Regions from separate parts of the Homo sapiens genome. Here region 1 is linked to region 2. The links are contacts of gene promoters, found by promoter capture Hi-C in human tissues and cell types (Jung and others, 2019). All regions are on one chromosome and are shown on one strand. Each heading gives the region's core, a stretch centred on a gene start or on the middle of the fragment in contact. The rest is flanking DNA. Distances are from core to core; before and after follow the strand shown. Region 1 has its middle 12 kb from the start of GSTM5. Region 2 holds the start of GSTM4 (glutathione S-transferase mu 4).

Region 1 (2,874 bases), core at 104-2,603, 68 kb after region 2:
TCGCTTGAGGACAGAAGTTTGCAGTGAGCTATGATTGCACCTGTGTATAATCAGTGCACTCTAGCCTGGGCAACATAGTGAGACCTCATCTCTGAAAAAAAAAAATAATAATAAAGGACGAAAGAAAGAGTAAAAACAAACCCCAATTCACCCTCTATAAAATAACAAATGAAATGGGAAGTGGAAAAAAGGGAAAAATTAGGTAAGCCTATATGATACAGTAGAAAACAGGCTGCACTCAGATTTGCAAATAAGCTGTTTTGCATTTATTTACAATGCTTATAGAATGCACTTCTTTGGTGAAGGGACTCTGAAGAGATATTGCGTAATAAGACTTATATACTAAGCATTGATATGAACAACCCAAAGTCACTCCTTGGATTGGCTCTTGTCTCCATCCCTCTGTGACCCCACTCAGGTTTACTGTCATCCCACTTTGTTACCCTACATTTTTTAGGCTCATGTGGCTTGTGTGGAATGGTGAGGGAAACTCTTACTGATGACAGAGACACAGAGACAGACTGGCCACTACCACATGGTAACCTGAGACTTGGAAGCAGTGAGCGAGAGTGGTCCATTCTGATGGGTTCCGGACCAACTCTCTCTGCAAATGTTAATTGTCATACTCCTTGTAAACAGATCTGGTTTTCCACAGAGGACTCCGCCTTTTGGAATAGCCCCAACAAATCCTCTCAAAGCATATTCTGTCCAAAAGGCCCAACAGACACCCTACATTCCCTGCATACCTTTAGTTCTCTTCCAGTTGAAACATAATTTTTTTTTTTTTTTTTAGACAAGGTCTTGCTCTGTCGCCCAAGCTGGAGTGCAGTAGTGCAATCATGGCTCACTGCAGCCTTGACTTCCTTGGGCTCAGGTGATCCTTCCACGTCAGCCTCCTGGGTTGCTGGGACTACAGGCACATGCCACCATGCCTGGCTAATTTTTTTTCCTGTATTTTGTAGAGATGGGGTTTTGCCATGTTGCCCAGGCTGGTCTTGAACTCCTGGGCTCAAGTGATTTGCCTGCCTCTGCCTCCCTCCACCTCCCAAAATGCTGGGATTACATGCATAAGCCACTGCGTGCGGCCTGAAACATAATTTTGGAAAGAAGCAGATAGGGTCTTGGTCACAGTTCAAAAAGAGTATCTGTTAATATAATTGAAAGTGTTGTACTACAGAAGATAAAGTACAGGCCTATTTAATAATTCTAATTTTCCTTCAAACTTCCAATACAACATGAACATTATTAGCTGGTGTGTTCTATTCCTATTATTTTGCATCATGGAAAACATCTCCTGCGAACACTAGGTTGGCCCGCTGTCTCCAAGTCAGGCCACACAGAAGCACCTATTCATTTAAAATTCAAATATACCCACACCCATTTAATCTTTTCTTCCAGATTTAAGTCTCACGTGTCAGTTATCTGTAATTATTTCCATTGTAAACCCCATAAGAACATTAAGAGCCAATCCCTGTTAGTTTTCAGAAATGTTTCATTTCAATTTGGCCTAAGCAAGGAAGAAATAAGCCAGACCATGAACTTGTAAACCCAGAAAATCTGGGAGAGGTCCAAGTTAAATCAGAAAGTTTATTTTGCCAAGGTGGAGGATGTGGCCATGACACGGTCTCAGAAAGTCCTTGACAACATGTCCCCAAGATGGTCGGGGCACAGCTTGGTTTGTAAATATATATAAAAGCTATGGCTTATCAATATATGTAAAAAGCACATTGGTTCCATCCAGAAAGGCTGGACAACTCGAAGCAGGTGGGTGCTTCAAGTTGTCCCACCTTTCCAGACCAAACCAATGTAGTTCTTTATACATATTAATTGATGTTTCATGTCTGTCTAAAATGTATAAAATCAAGCTGTGCCCTGAACACCTGCGGCACATGTTGTCAGGACATCCTGAGGCTGTGCCACCGGTATTCATCCTCAACCTTGGCAAAACAAACTTTCTAAATTAACTGAGACCTGGCTGGGCACGGTGGCTCACGCCTGTAATCCCAGCACTTTGAAAGGCTGAGGCAGGCGGATCACCCGAGATGAGGAGTCCAAGACTAGCCTGGCCAACATGGCGAAACCTCGTCTCTACTAAAAATACAAAACTTAGCTGGGCATGGTGGCAGATGCCTGTAATCCCAGCTACTTGCTTGGTAGGCCGAGGCAGGAGAATCGCTTGAACCTGGGAGGTGGAGATTACAGTGAGCGGAGATTGTGCCATTGCACTCCAGTCTGGGCGACAGAGCAAAACTCCCTCTAAAAATGAAAGAAAGGAAGGGAAGGGAAGGGAAGGGAAGGGAGGGGAAGGGAAGGGAAGGGAAGGGAAGGGGAAAGAAAGGAAGAAAGAAAGAAAGAAAGACAGACCTGTCTCGGATTTTCTGGAACTTGTCTCACATTTTCTGGGTTCACAGGAGGAATCTCAGATAAGACTGTTTTAAAGCTGAGCTCAGCCATGGATTTGTGCCATTAAATACCTATGAGTTGGGTGATCCTCTCCCCTTGAGGTTCCAAAGTAAACTTGGGGCTCCTGGGCCTGTCAGAAAGTGACATTCTTTACCTACCACAGGTGGACAAAACTATGAGTCCAGTTTCCCAAGTGGCTTTATTGGCTCCATAAATCAAGTTTGATTCCTTAAAGGAAAGCATACCATTCAAGTTAAAGCTTTGGTAAAATAACCAGTTTCTCCAACTGTGTCCTGTTACAAATGAAAACAGATTATTATTGTGTTGGGAACCGAAAGCCTGAGGGTTGTGACCCACTCAGCATTCCACTGAAGGCTATATGATCAAACAGCAAACTGTTTATCATGAATACAGAATGTGAGCAAACTTGCATCTGTGCCTGCCGCCAGAAGGTATGCTGAGAGTAATCAC
Region 2 (2,500 bases), core at 1-2,500:
CAGGCACCGCTTCTCTCTCCTACACTCAACCCCTCTCCCACTCCACTGCCTCTCAGTGTGCAAAAACAGTAAGAAGTGTCCCGTATTTTCAAAATCTCTCCCCTGTAGTTCCCACCTGACTTCTAGTCGTAGGTGGCCAAAGTACAGTGTTTTTGAAGGATTGTTTTATTCCCAGTGCCTGGAATATGGTAGGATCTCAACAACTGTTGTTTCAATAAAGGAATGACCAAATGGGTGAATACTAATGTAACAATATCAATTCTGTTTCTTTCATAATTATTCTCATAAGTGTTAGCTTTCTTAAAAAATCATCTTCACAATTGGACCTAGACATTTTATCTTTCCCAGCTCAAGATGGATAAACTCAGAATGACAGGCCAGGCACCGTGGCTCATGCCTGTAATCCCAGCACTTTGGGAGGCGGAGGCGGGTGGATCACTTGAGACCAGGAGTTCAAGACCAGTCTGGTCAACACGGTGAAATCCCATCTCTACAGAAAATACAAAAAAGTTAGCAGGGCGTCGTGGCGCTCGTCTGTAATCCCAGCTGCTCGGGAGGCTGAGGCAGGAGAATCGCTTGAGCCCGGGAGGCGGAGGTTGCAATGAACCGAGATCGCCCTACTGCACTCCAGCCTGGGCAACACAGCGAGTCCCCGTTCCAAAAAAAAAAAAAAAAAAAAGACTCAGAATGACACATTCTTAATGTCTTAATGTATAATGAGAAGTATAACTATTCAGAAGTCCAAGCACTTGTGTGTGCATGGTGCTATCGTCTTGCTGTAGGCAAACCTACATGGGAATCCACCTTGACACATAGGCCACTTCCTGAGCCTGGACCCAGTCTCAGAGCTGGGGAACTGGCCCAATGCAAAAGGGTCGGGAGCATCTGCAACAGAGACTGAGCTCTATCAGCTTCGGTGACATAGCCTCCATTCACGCTCCCCAACTCAGCAGAGAGAGCACACCATCAGACTTCTAAGACTTAGTAGCCAAGAAGTGTTGAATTAAACTCTCTGAGACCTCTCTTTAGTCTGACCCTGGCAGCCTCAGTCTCCCAGAGCCTGTGGGAACTCGGCAGCCGAGAGGCAGAAGGCTGGGCGACGTCCGGAGAAGAAGAAACGGGGGAAGAACTTTTCTCTTACGATCTGGCTTTACTCTCACGCGCACAGCCGAGTCCCTGGGGACCCAGCAGAGGTCCGAAGCGGAGCGGGGCGGGGCGGGGCTACGGAAGCTGGCGAGGCCGAGCCCCTCCTAGTGCTTCCGGACCTTGCTCCCTGAACACTCGGAGGTGGCGGTGGATCTTACTCCTTCCAGCCAGTGAGGATCCAGCAACCTGCTCCGTGCCTCCCGCGCCTGTTGGTTGGAAGTGACGACCTTGAAGATCGGCCGGTTGGAAGTGACGACCTTGAAGATCGGCGGGCGCAGCGGGGCCGAGGGGGCGGGTCTGGCGCTAGGTCCAGCCCCTGCGTGCCGGGAACCCCAGAGGAGGTCGCAGTTCAGCCCAGCTGAGGCCTGTCTGCAGAATCGACACCAACCAGCATCATGTCCATGACACTGGGGTACTGGGACATCCGCGGGGTGAGTGAGGGTCCGCTGCACTGTGGGACCGGGCGCGTGGGCGGGAAGTGCCGAGCGGCTGGGGACCGGCTCTAGGGACGGTTCCCTCCTTAGGGCTATCTCTCACAGGAGGGCCTGTGCATGCCTGTGTGTGTGTGTGTGTGTGTGTGTGTGTGTGTGTGTGTGCGTGCGCCGGGGTGGGGGGGGGGTGCAGTGCAGTGTAGACTAGGGGCTCACCTGGTGCAGAGAAAGTCACCAAGTCAGGGACCCTCCATCTCTGACACGACCTGCGGGCCATCTCTTCCAGCTGGCCCACGCCATCCGCCTGCTCCTGGAATACACAGACTCAAGCTACGAGGAAAAGAAGTATACGATGGGGGACGGTAATGACACCCTTGTGTCCGGGCTCTGCCCACTCACGCTGAGTTGGCACCAAGCAACCCATGGTGGCCACCTGTGGCTACCTCTGCAGGCCTCCCCTGCTGGAGCTGCAGGCTGTCCCTTCCCTGAGCCCCGGTGAGGGAGTCCTGTGGCCTTGCAAGGCAGAATGCTGGGGCGGGATGCTGGGCCCCCTGTTTAATTGGGTTGGGTGTCCCTCAGAGCTTCCCTAAACCCTGGAAGCCTTAGCCGTGTGGGGTCCAGAGCCCTCAGCGGGATTCTTTGTCCCTGAACCCTGGGATGTGGGACTGAGTGGTCAGATTCTAGATCCACCTGTCTCAGGGATCTTGCCACTGGTTCCTTGGGAGGGTCCCCGGGAAGGAGGGCTGGGCTCTGGGGAGGTTTGTTTTCACTTCTTCTTCCCCACGGCAGCTCCTGACTATGACAGAAGCCAGTGGCTGAATGAAAAATTCAAGCTGGGCCTGGACTTTCCCAATGTAGGTGCAGGGGAAGGGGCGGTTTTGGGGGAAAGTGCGACGTGTCTCTGACTGCATCTCCTCTCCCCA

Evidence for each region. The method cuts DNA at HindIII sites, captures the fragments that hold promoters and counts their contacts. A contact is called where the count stands out against the background at its distance.
Region 1: a fragment that was not itself captured here is called in contact with the fragment with the promoter of GSTM4 in region 2 in 2 of the 25 tissues and cell types used here (IMR-90 fibroblasts and bladder).

Annotation. Positions count from the first base shown.
Region 1 is chr1:109,722,792-109,725,665 of GRCh38, forward strand. No RefSeq gene overlaps it. Among named protein-coding and RNA genes, the nearest start is that of GSTM5, 12 kb to the left of the region's middle. The HindIII fragment of the contact is 5,225 bases long and covers 1-2,874 here.
Region 2 is chr1:109,654,849-109,657,348 of GRCh38, forward strand. GSTM4 (glutathione S-transferase mu 4) reads left to right here and starts at 1,251. Exons shown (of 8, transcript NM_000850.5): 1 at 1,251-1,577; 2 at 1,864-1,939; 3 at 2,367-2,431. The coding sequence starts at 1,542. RefSeq lists enhancers at 969-1,018, 1,892-2,477. The HindIII fragment of the contact is 7,232 bases long and covers 1-2,500 here.